Regions from separate parts of the Homo sapiens genome. Here regions 2 and 3 are each linked to region 1. Evidence: promoter capture Hi-C in 16 types of primary human blood cells and fetal thymus (Javierre and others, 2016). All regions are on one chromosome and are shown on one strand. Each heading gives the region's core, a stretch centred on a gene start or on the middle of the fragment in contact. The rest is flanking DNA. Distances are from core to core; before and after follow the strand shown. Region 1 holds the start of ARL6IP1 (ARL6 interacting reticulophagy regulator 1). Region 2 has its middle 27 kb from the start of SMG1. Region 3 has its middle 10 kb from the start of TMC7.

What was found. The method cuts DNA at HindIII sites, captures the fragments that hold promoters and counts their contacts. A CHiCAGO score of 5 or more calls a contact.
Region 2: a fragment that was not itself captured here is called in contact with the fragment with the promoter of ARL6IP1 in region 1 in 8 of 17 cell types (fetal thymus, activated CD4 T cells, erythroblasts and 5 more); the score reaches 9.1 in fetal thymus.
Region 3: a fragment that was not itself captured here is called in contact with the fragment with the promoter of ARL6IP1 in region 1 in 1 of 17 cell types (naive CD4 T cells); the score reaches 5.7 in naive CD4 T cells.

What each region holds. Positions count from the first base shown.
Region 1 is chr16:18,799,153-18,802,838 of GRCh38, forward strand. ARL6IP1 (ARL6 interacting reticulophagy regulator 1) reads right to left here and starts at 2,397. Exons shown (of 6, transcript NM_015161.3): 1 at 2,279-2,397. The coding sequence starts at 2,314. RefSeq lists enhancers at 1,901-2,020, 2,241-2,320, 2,701-2,940. The HindIII fragment of the contact is 8,806 bases long and covers 1-3,686 here.
Region 2 is chr16:18,951,268-18,954,848 of GRCh38, forward strand. No RefSeq gene overlaps it. Among named protein-coding and RNA genes, the nearest start is that of SMG1, 27 kb to the left of the region's middle. The HindIII fragment of the contact is 443 bases long and covers 1,155-1,597 here.
Region 3 is chr16:18,971,819-18,975,469 of GRCh38, forward strand. No RefSeq gene overlaps it. Among named protein-coding and RNA genes, the nearest start is that of TMC7, 10 kb to the right of the region's middle. RefSeq lists an enhancer at 471-971. The HindIII fragment of the contact is 328 bases long and covers 1,415-1,742 here.

The DNA.
Region 1 (3,686 bases), core at 1,147-3,646:
GGGACTATAGGCGCCCGCCACCACGCCCGACTAATTTTTTGTAGAGACAGGGTTTCACCATGTTGGCCAGGCTGGTCTCAAACTCTGGACCTCAAGTGATCCACTCACCTCGTCTTCCCAAAGTGCTGGGATTACAGGTGTGAGCCACCAGGCCCAGCCTAAATATCCTTTAATGGTCACTTTTCTAGTCCAAGCACTGGGCTATTCTTTATATACATGATGTAACTTAATCCTTACAGAGAGCCACAAGGTAGGGATAATTAGACTCAATTTACAATTAAAGAAAGTGAGCTCAAAATGGTTTACTTTCTCAAAGTCATGCGGGGAATCGTGGCAGTGCCCAGAGTATTAATAAAATGAAATAACTTTTTTTAAGTTTGTTTATTTCAGATGGTTAGAATTGATCCGTTGTTTTTGTCATCTTATTGATTTAAACCCTTCTAAATCCATTAGGAAAGACTTTCCCTGAATAGCATTCAATTTCTAAAATAGCTCTTTGTGTAATGGAATCACTCAGATGTTGACATTCATTGGACAATTAAGGAAAACTACTTTCACCAAATTAAGGTGGCATTTTACGGTCAATATACCTCCTCAATACAGTGTTTCTTACCACTCAGGATGTCATTTTGATTATACTTCAAATTTCTCTGACTCTGAACAGCCGAAAGTGGGCCTCTAGGATGAGCTAATGTGGCAAAAGCCCTTAAAGCTGGTTTTGGTAAAGGAAGAAAAATTTAGAATAAGAAACTCAAGTGTCTCTATGTTATCAGGCTGGATGCAGTGGATCACGCCTGTAAACCCAGCACTTGGCGGGTCGGGGGGGATTGCTTGAGCCCAGGAGATCGGGACCAGCCTGGGCTGAGACCTTGTCTCTTTGTAAAAGTCATTCACTGGAAATCATGCAAATGACAGAACAAGGCACTTAATCTTAACAAAGACGCTCGCTATCTGTGCCACGCTGAGCACTAGTGTGATCTCAATATTTCTGACTTTATATTCCATGCTTAATACTAGTGAAAGAGACTACTATGTGTGGGCACTCTGCTGAGCATTCATATTTATACTTCAATTAATCTTCCTAACAACCCTTAAAAAAAGGTGTTATTACTGTCCCCATTTTACCAAGGAGGAAACAGATACAGAGGTTAACTGATCTGCATCCAAGAAATCCACGACCAAAGGCGTTGCTTTCCTTAGAGTTATATTGCTCTGCTGGAAGGAGAGTTGGGAAGCAGGAGCTCTAGCCCAGGATTTGTCATTTCAACAGGGCTTGAGCTACTTCTCTGTGCTTCAATTAATCCTCTTAAAAAGATCCACGCTGAGAACTAACTATGCTAGAAGGAGCGTGTGTTTAAAGGAACAAACCATGCATTTCTAAAAGCAAATATAAAATCACGCACAATCAAAACTGCCCTGAAGTCACGTCATTGGCCAGCGTCTGGGGTCTTGGAAGTTCAAAAGCCCCTAAGTAAATTCTTTGGTTCCGTTTTTCATTGCTGGTATGTGACCTACAGTCACCAGGGAAGGGCAACTGAGAATATGCAAGGATATTTCTCTTGTTTTTTGCCCACAAGGTGCGCTTAAATTCATAACAAATAAAAATGTGTCCGCCTATGATACCATCTCACTGCAGTTCCTTCGGATCCCTGCTTATTACTCTAAAGCTGTTTCCAGTAGTCCTGTGACCCCACCCCCGCCAGACTTCCAAATTCCAGACAAACGCCAAGACATCCCATTGTCTGTTCAGCTGGACCCCGCTCCCGGTTCCCCACGGTGAGCTCGCAGCCTCCCTGTCGTTTTAAGTTGTACCAGCTCTAAGATAAATTCTGGGCAGTAGCCCTTTGACCCTCCACCCTTGTCCAAGTTTTAGGGGGAAAAGAAGGCAGGCACATCCAGGTTAAGATCAAAGACGGGGAAAGCCGAATACGGCTGGGGCCTGAGCCGCGAAAGCGCTGGACAGGCCCCAGGAGGCCTTCTGCCCCCACCCGCACCCCAGGCTAGTGTCGCAGCCCCTCTGCCTCCCACTTCCTCCTCGACTCCTACTCGCGGTGATGAATCACGCGCCCTCCTCGCCCCGTCGCGCACCGTCCCCAGGAAAGGTAAGGGTTCGACACCCAGGAGTCACCCAAGAAGCCCGAGGGCCAGGCATCGTCGCCTGCCCAGGGAGAGAAGGGCCGGGCCCGCGGCGGGTGACAGGGACGAGGCCGCGGTGTTTGAGCCCACGGACGTCTGGAGGCCTCGCTCGGCTCCCGGGGGACAGGCAGCCAGGACTCACCAGCAGGTTGGTGCTGCGATTATCTCCCTCCGCCATCGTCTCGGGGATGCAGTCTCTACAAGCGCAGGCCACCTCCCCAACGAGTCCTCCAACCGAAACCCGCACACCAACCACAACCCGAGGGAACGCCCCGCAGGCTGCTTATATGGGTCGGCCGCCCTTCCCGACGGCCCCCGCGACGCTCGCTCCTCATTGGACAGACCGAGCTTACGCCTCAAGGAAGCCGGGCCAACCGAAGCTCAGCGCATGGCTTGAAATCGAGGTCAAAGGAGACAGAGGCAGCGCCGGGCCGAGGGGGAGGGGACACGGAGTGCCCAATCAGCGCCCAGGGACTGCGCGACGCCCCGCCCAGCGCTGTGGGAAGCGGTTCAACCGCCTCTGCAGGGGGCGCTGTCCCTCAGTGGTTCTCCGGCTCTTGCCGCTGCGGTGGCTTTGGGTCCCTCTTCGTCTGGCTTTCGCAGCCGAGGAGACTCTCTGGAAAATGGGCTACTCGAAGAGAGATGCTCCGTTGCCTCAGGCGGAGGGCGGGGACGCCGGGCCTGCGACACTTCATCTTTTCCTGGCCCCGAGGTGGCTGGGATCCGTTCCACCTTCGGCCCAGTTCCCCAGCCAGGCCCCTGAGCCGTTTAGCCCGGATTTGCGACCCGTGAGGTTTTGAGGACAAGTGAAAAGAGCTCTTTGTGTGGATTTTGCTGCAATGTTTCTCTCCTACCCAGTAGGAATGAGGCCTTAGCTTGCGCGGAAAAACCCAGGCCTGGTTTGAGAACGTGTGAAAATGCACCGCCTTCTAAGTGGCTTTATTATACGTGGATGTTTAAGTTACTTAAACTACAAGCTCCCTCTCCAAAAGGATTCTTTTTTTTTTTTTCTTTTTTTTTGAGACGGAGTCTCGCTATGTTGCCCAGCCTGGAGTGCAGTGGCGCGATCTTGCTCACTGCAAGCTCTGCCTCCCGGGTTCACGCCATTGTCCTGCCTCAGCCTTCCAAGTAGCTGGGACTACAGGCGTCCGCCAACACGCCTGGCTAATTTTTTGTATTTTTAGTAGAGACGTAGTTTCACCGTGTTAGGATGGTCTCGATCTCCTGACCTCGTGATCCGCCCGCCTCGGCCTCCCAAAGTGCTAGGATTACAGGCGTGAGCCACCGCGCCCGGCCAGAATTGTTTGTTTGTTTGTTTGAGACGAAGGAGTCTCGCGCTCCGTGGCCCCGGCTGAAGTGCAGTGGCGCGATCTCTGCTCACTGTAACCTCCATCTCCCGGGTTCAAGTGATCCTGGCGCGTCAGCCTCCCGAGTAGCTGGAATTACAGACGCCCGTCACTACGCCCGGCTAATTTTTGTATTTTAATAGAGACGGGGTTTCGCTATTTTGGCCAGGGTGGTCTGGACCTCCTGACCTCAAGATATCCGCC
Region 2 (3,581 bases), core at 126-2,625, 150 kb after region 1:
TGCTGCAGATTTCCTAAGTTAGAACAGTGGTAGAACATCACCTTTATGTCAGTAAAATCCCATGACTCCTTTACAGTATCATGGCTTAACCACCTTAGTTTTTATCCCAAGGGTAGAAGAACTGAGCTATAGCTATAGAGACACCAAGATATGGTCCAAGGAGTAAGAATTTTCTTATGAGGGCATGGTGGCTCACACCTATAATCCTAGCATTTTGCGGCCGGGCACGGTGGCTCATGCCTGTAATCCCAGCACTTTGGGAGGCCGAGGCGGGTGGATCACGAGGTCAGAAGATCGAGACCATCCTGGCTAACACGGTGAAACCCCATCTCTACTAAAAAAATACAAAAAATTAGCCGGGCTTGGTGGCGGGTGCCAGTATTCCCAGCTACTTGGGAGGCTGAGGCAGGAGAATGGTGTGAACCCGGGAGGTGGAGCTTGCAGTGAGCCGAGATTTCACCACTGCACTCCAGCCTGGGTGACAGAGCGAGACTCCGTCTCAAAGCAAACAAACAACAAAAAAAAAAACCTAGCATTTTGGTAGGCCAAGGAGGGAGGATGGTTTGAGCCTAGGATTTTGAGACCAACCTGGGCAACATAGCAAGACCTCATCTCTACAAAAAAAAATTTTAAAAATTAGACGGGCATGGTGGTATGCACCTGCAGTCCCAGCTACTCAGGAGGCTGAGGCAGGAGGATTGCTTGAGCCCAAGAGTTCAAGGCTGCAATGAGCTATGATTGGGCCACTGTACTCCAGTCTCTACAACAGACTGAGACCTTGTTTTGTTTTGTTTTTTTTTAAGTGCCACTTAACTCAGGCTACTGGTTATGAAAATGCCCCTGAAAGAAATTAAATAGGTAAGTAAAGGAAATTTCCTGGGGGAAGATATTTATTTATTTATTTAGAGACAGGTTCTTTCTCTGTCACCCAGGCTGGAGTGCAGTGGCACAATCTCAGCTCATTGCAACCTCTGCCTCCCAGGTTCAAGCGATTCTCCTGCCTCAGCCTCCTGAATAGCTGGGATGACAGGCGTGCACCACCATGCCTGGTTAATTTTTGTATTTTTAGTAGAGCTGGGCTTTTACCATGTTGGCCAGGCTAGAAAATAAATATTTAAAAACAGCTTCTGGGCCTTACCTCTGCTTCATCTTGAAGCTTATTTGTAAATCAGCATGCTTTTTTCTTTTCTCCTTTTAAATTAACTAATTAATTAATTAATTGTTTTGAAACAGAGTTTTGCTCTTGTCTCCCAGGCTGGAGTGCAATGGTGCAATCTTGGCTGACTGCAATCTCCACCTCCTGAGTTTTAAGTGATTCTCCCGCCTCAGCCTCCCGAGTAGCTGCGATTACAGGCACCCACCACCACGCCCAGCTAATTTTTATATTTTCAGTAGAGATGGGGTTTTCTCCATTTTGGCCAGGCTGGTCTCGAACTCCTGACCTCAGGTGATCCACCTGCCTCGGCCTCCCAAAGTGCTGGATCACAGGCATGAGCCACTGTGCCTGGCCATCTTTTCTCCCTTTCTAAATGCAAAATGTGAAGTAAAAACTGGAGAAAACATTACGCTGATTCAGAAATAACTTTTTGGAGCAACAAGCTTGGTCTCTTTAGGGACATTCCTGACATTGAACATTCTCCCATCTGGCTCCCATAAGAATATATATATATATATATTTTTAAGAGACAGAGTCTTGCTCTGTCACCCAGCCTGAGTGCAGTGGCACAATCATAGCTCACTGCAGCCTCGAACTCCTGGGCTCAGGCGATCCTACCACCTTAGTCTCCCAAGTAGCTGGGACTACAGGTAAATGCCACCCTGCCCGGCTAATAGGTAGGATTTTTAAATAGCCCTTGAGATGTGGGAAGGCAACTACCATTTATTTATTTATTTATTTAGAGACACAGTTTTCACTCTGTCGCCCAGGCTGCAGTGCAGTGGCGTGATATCGGCTCACTGCAACCTCCACCTCCCAGGTTCAAGCGATTCTCCTGCCTCAGCCTCCTGAGTAGCTGGGATTACAAGCGTGCGCCACCATGCCCAGCTAATTTTTGTATTTTTAGTAGAGACCGGGTTTCACCACGTTGTCCAGACTGGTCTTGAGCTCCTGACCTTGGGTGATCCCAAGGTCCCGCCTTGGCCTCCCAAAGTGCTGGGATTACAGGCCTGAGGCACTGCGCCCCCGCAACTACCATTTATTAAGCACCTGCTATAGGTCAGGCATTCCACAAACCTCTTTGTGTTCATTAACTCATGTATTGCAGTAGGAAGCTCTGTTATCATTGGGATTATGGCTTGTCTGGAATATTTTCTTAGAGTTTGCAAAAATATTTTCTAAAGCAAAACAGTCTATTCAGATAAAGCATTCCCACAGAGAAAATTATGCAGATATTAAAGAATCCTGTAGGGCTGAGAGTGTATGCAGGTCATTAAGCCTTAAAAACTTTCTGGACCTCTTAGGCTGGCCATTAAAACTCCTGGTGAGAGCTGGTTATTTAATTAGGCTACAAACAAAATTTCAGCAATTGCTTCTAAATGGTTTTTCCAGCCCTGGAGGGAACCCAGGCAGGATTGGTGTGTGGTAAGGCTAATTTTTGCCTCCTGGCAGTTTTTAAATATTGCTTTCTTTTGTTTTGTTACATGTAGACCATAAATTATATAGCAAAACACCACCATATATTAGGCAAGGGACCAATTTTGTTTTCTCTCTAAAATACATGTCAAACATTGGCCTTCAAAATGACTAGGTTTGCTCATTTTCTTTTTTTTTTCTTTTTTTTGAGACAGGGTCTTGCTCTGTCATTCAGCCTGGAGTGCAGTGGTACGATATAGGCTCACTGCAGTCTCAACCTCCTGGGCTCAAGCAATCCTCCCACTTCAGCCTCCCAAGTAGCTGGGACTACAGGCACATGCCACCACACCTGGCTAATTTTTTTTTTTTCCCCCGAGAGAGTCTGGCTCTGTTGCCCAGGCTGGAATGCACTGCAACTTCCGCCTCTCAGGTTCAAATGATTCTCCTGCCTCAGCCTCCTGAGTACCTGGGACTATAGGTGCGTGCCACCATGTCTGGCTAATTTTTGTATTTTTAGTAGAGATGGGGTTTCACCATGTCGGCCAGGCTGGTCTCAAACTCCTGACCTCAGGTGATCCACCTGCCTCGGCCTCCCAAAATGTTGGGATTACAGGAATGAGCCACCATGGCCGATCCTAGCTAATTTTTTAGGAAACTTTTTTGTAGAGATGGGGTTTCGCCATGTTGCCCAGGCTGGTCTCAAACTCCTGAGATCAAGTGATACCATTTGCCTTGGCCTCTAAAAGTGATGGGATTACAGGCGTGAGCCACTGCGTCAGGCTGCTTTGCTCATTTAATAAATATGTTTTAAGGTACCTACTATATGCAATGGTGAATAAAATAGACATACTCCTTACCCTCAAGGAGCTTCAGAGCTGGCACAAGAAAGAGATAACTGCAAGTAAGTCAATGTATAACCCAAAGCTGTGTTATGAACTTGTCTCTGTGTTGCATATGTACAATCCCAATTGTGTATGTGAGAGAAAATATCTAGGGTATCATTTATAGT
Region 3 (3,651 bases), core at 329-2,828, 170 kb after region 1:
GAAATGCAATTGTCTAAGACACCTTCCCTAGGAATCTCATCAAGTAACCAGAAGAGACTGGGAGTCGTCACCACATCCAGACTTTTCATCTGTTCTTCTGAGGGCAGCTCTAAGGGATTACCTGGAGGACTTTTACCTGCATAATAAGCCAATATTTGTTCCTGTGCAGTTCCACCCCTCACCTGGTACATCAAACCTGTCTGTCTCATCCAGCTTGCAAAGAGAATCACTTTCAAAATAATATCTGTCTCCAGGTCCATACATCTCTCCTATGAAGAGAGTTTTTTTTTTTTTTTTTTTTGAGACAGAGTCTTGCTTTGTCATCCAGGCTGGAGTGCAGTGGCACAAACTCGGCTCACTGCAACCTCTGCCTCCTGGGTTCAAGTGAATCTCCTGCCTCCGCCTCCCGAGTAGCTGAGATTACAGGCATGCGCCACCATGACTGGCTAATTTTTGTATTTTTAGTAAAGACGGGGTTTTGCCATGTTGGCCAGGCTGATCTTGAACTCCTGATCTGCCCGCCTCAGCCTCCCAAAGTGCTGGGATTGCGGGCATGAGCCACCGTGCCCGGCCATGAAGAGAATATTTAATTTTCAACCACCTGGTCTCTCTTCGAGTCTCATGCTTTGTGTATGGCTCATGTGTTCATAGGCACATGAATAAATTGTGGATCCTTTTTTCTTCATTGATCTGCTTTTGTCAATTTATTATGGAGCAAATGGGCTCGCTTCCTGATGTGCACAGAAGCCAATAACTACAGCACTGGCTTTTGAAAAAATGAAAAAGGTTTTATTGCAAAATCAGCCAGCAAGGAGACAGGAGTCAGGCTCAAATCTGTCTCCTCTATTTGGGGCCTGGGGCAAGTTTTAATGGACCAGAGGGCAAAGGAAAGGATTTGAAAATGTCGGCTTGGCAGAGTCTGATTGGAGGACTTCAAATTTGACCATTTACGAGGCCGGGCGCGGTGGCTCACGCCTGTAATCCCAGCACTTTGGGAGGCCGAGACGGGTGGATCACGAGGTCAGGAGATCGAGACCATCCTGGCTAACGTGGTGAAGCCCTGTCTCTACTAAAAATACAAAAAATTAGCCAGGCGTGGTGGCGGGCACCTGTAGTCCCAGCTACTCGGGAGGCTGAGGCAGGAGAATGGCATGAACCCGGGAGGCGGAGCTTTCAGTGAGCCGAGATTGCGCCTCTGCACTCCAGCCTGGGCGACAGAGCAAGACCCCGTTTCCAAAAAAAAAAAATTTGACCATTTACAATAAGGTATGTTGAGGCAGATCCTAGCCCTGGATCTTTCAGGCCAAGGGACCCCTCACTTCTGAAATAGTCCAGCATTCAGGTTTTGATCATGTCTTCATCTTCTTGGATCTGAGGGGAAGAATGTTTTTTTCTGGATGTTATCAGAGGTCAAAGCTTTTGAGATGGAGTCTGACTCTGTCACCCAGACTGGAGTACAGTGGTGAGATCTCGGCTCACTGCAACCTCTGCCTCCCGGGTTCCAGCGATTCTCCTGCCTCAGCCTCCTGAGCAGCTGGGATTACAGGTGCCTGCCACCACGCCCGGCTAATTTTTGTATTTTTAGTAGAGATGGGGTTTCATCGTGTTAGCTAGGATGGTCTCGATCTCCTGACCTCATGTTCCGCCCACCTCTGCCTCCCAAAGTGCTGGGATTACAGACGTGAGCCACCGTGCCTGGCCTGGATATTCTCTTAATTGCAAACGAAAACATTCCTAATACAAGCTTCTTATAAGAATTTATTTATTTTATTTTTTTGAGATGAAGTCTTGCTCTTGTTGCCCAGGCTGGAGTGCAGTGGCATGATCTTAGCTTACTGCAACCTCTGCCTTGCAGGTTCAAGCAATTCTCCTGCCTCAGCCTCCTGAGTAGCTGGGACTACAGGCAGGCGCCACCACACCCGGCTAATTTTTGTATTTTTAGTAGAGACAGGGTTTCACCATACTGGCCAGGCAAGTCTTGAACTTCTGACTTTGTGATCCCCTCCGGCCTCCCAAAGTGCCAGGATTACAGGTGTGAGCCATCACACCCAGCCCTCTTAGAAGAATTTATACACATTATTATAATTACTTTTTTTTTTTTTTTTGCAATCACTGAACACTTTTTCCTAATGAGGAAGAAGAAAGAAACCTTTACTCAGAATCTATGCCACAGAACTTAGTACTTTGTTAGTTAGGGATTCTCTTGGGAGAAGATATCCCGGTAGGAGCAAGGCTTAGCACTCTACAGCAACTGCTTATTTATTTATTTATTTATTTATTTATTTATGGAGACAGGGTCTCATTCTGTCACCCAGGCTGGAGTGCAGTGACATGATCTCAGCTCACTGTAGCCTTCACCTCCCGGGTGCAAGCGATTCTCCTGCCTCAGCCTCTGGAGTAGCTGGAACTACAGGCACACACCACCATGCCCAGCTAATTTTCGTATGTTTAGTAGAGACGGGGTTTCTCTATGTTGGCAAGGCTGGTCTGGAACTCCTGACCTCAAGTGATCTGCCTGCCTTGGCCTCCCAAAGTGCTGGAATTTACAGGTGTGAGCCACCGCACCCGGTCTGAATGCTTTATTTTATTCTTTTATTTATTTATTTATTTATTTATTTATTTATTTATTTATTTATTTTTCCTTTGAGACGGAGTCTTGCTCTGTTGCCCAGGCTGGAGTGCAGTGGTGCGATCTTGGCTTACTGCAAGCTCTGCCTCCCAGGTTCACACCATTCTCCTGCCTCAGCCTCCCGAGTAAGCTGGGACTACAGGCACCCACCATCATGCCCAGCTAATTTTTTTGTATTTTTATTAGAGACAGGGTTTCACTGTGTTAGCCAGGATGGTCTCGATCTCCTGAGTTGGTGATCTGTCCTCCATGGCCTCCCAAAGTGCTGGGATTACAAGCGTGAGCCACCACGCCCAGCCACTTTATTCTTATAGACGTACTAGCACCCACACAGATGTCTTCTACTCATGCGGTAACATATATGGGAAAATTCTAGAATCCTCCACGAAAATGTCTCCCAAACATGATTAAAAATATGAACACTGGATGGTTGTGGTGGCTCATGCTTGTAATACAAGCATTTTGGGAGGTGGAGGCAGAAGGATTGATTGAACCCAGAAGCTTGAGACCAGCCTGGGCAACAAATTAAGACCCTGTGTATATAGAGTTTTTTATTTTTTATTTTTTTATTAGCCAAGTGTTGTGGTATGTACCTGTAGTCCCAGCTACTCAAGAGGCTGAGGTGGGAGGATCACTGGAATCCAGAAGGTTGAGGCTGCAGTGAGCTATGATCAGCACTGTACTCCAGCCTGGGTGACAGAGTGAGACCTTGTCTGAAAAAAACAATTTTGCAAAAATGTGGATGGTGCTACAGTTCATAACTAATTTAGGAATTGCTCCAAAAAGCACAGGAAGACAGAGAAAGAGACTGAACAACAATGAAATCTGTTAGCTTTGTCGCCTACTGCTGTTGCCAGTCATTTTCTGCTGCCTGTACTGGAAAGTAGAAAGCCAGGACACAGAGAAGGAATAAGAAGCCTCAGAGAGAGGCTGAAAAGAGATAAAAGGAGAGAGCCACCGTCCTCGGTTCCCTCTGGTCCTCAGCTCCCATCTCCTTCTAAACTCAGCTGCATCTCACCCAG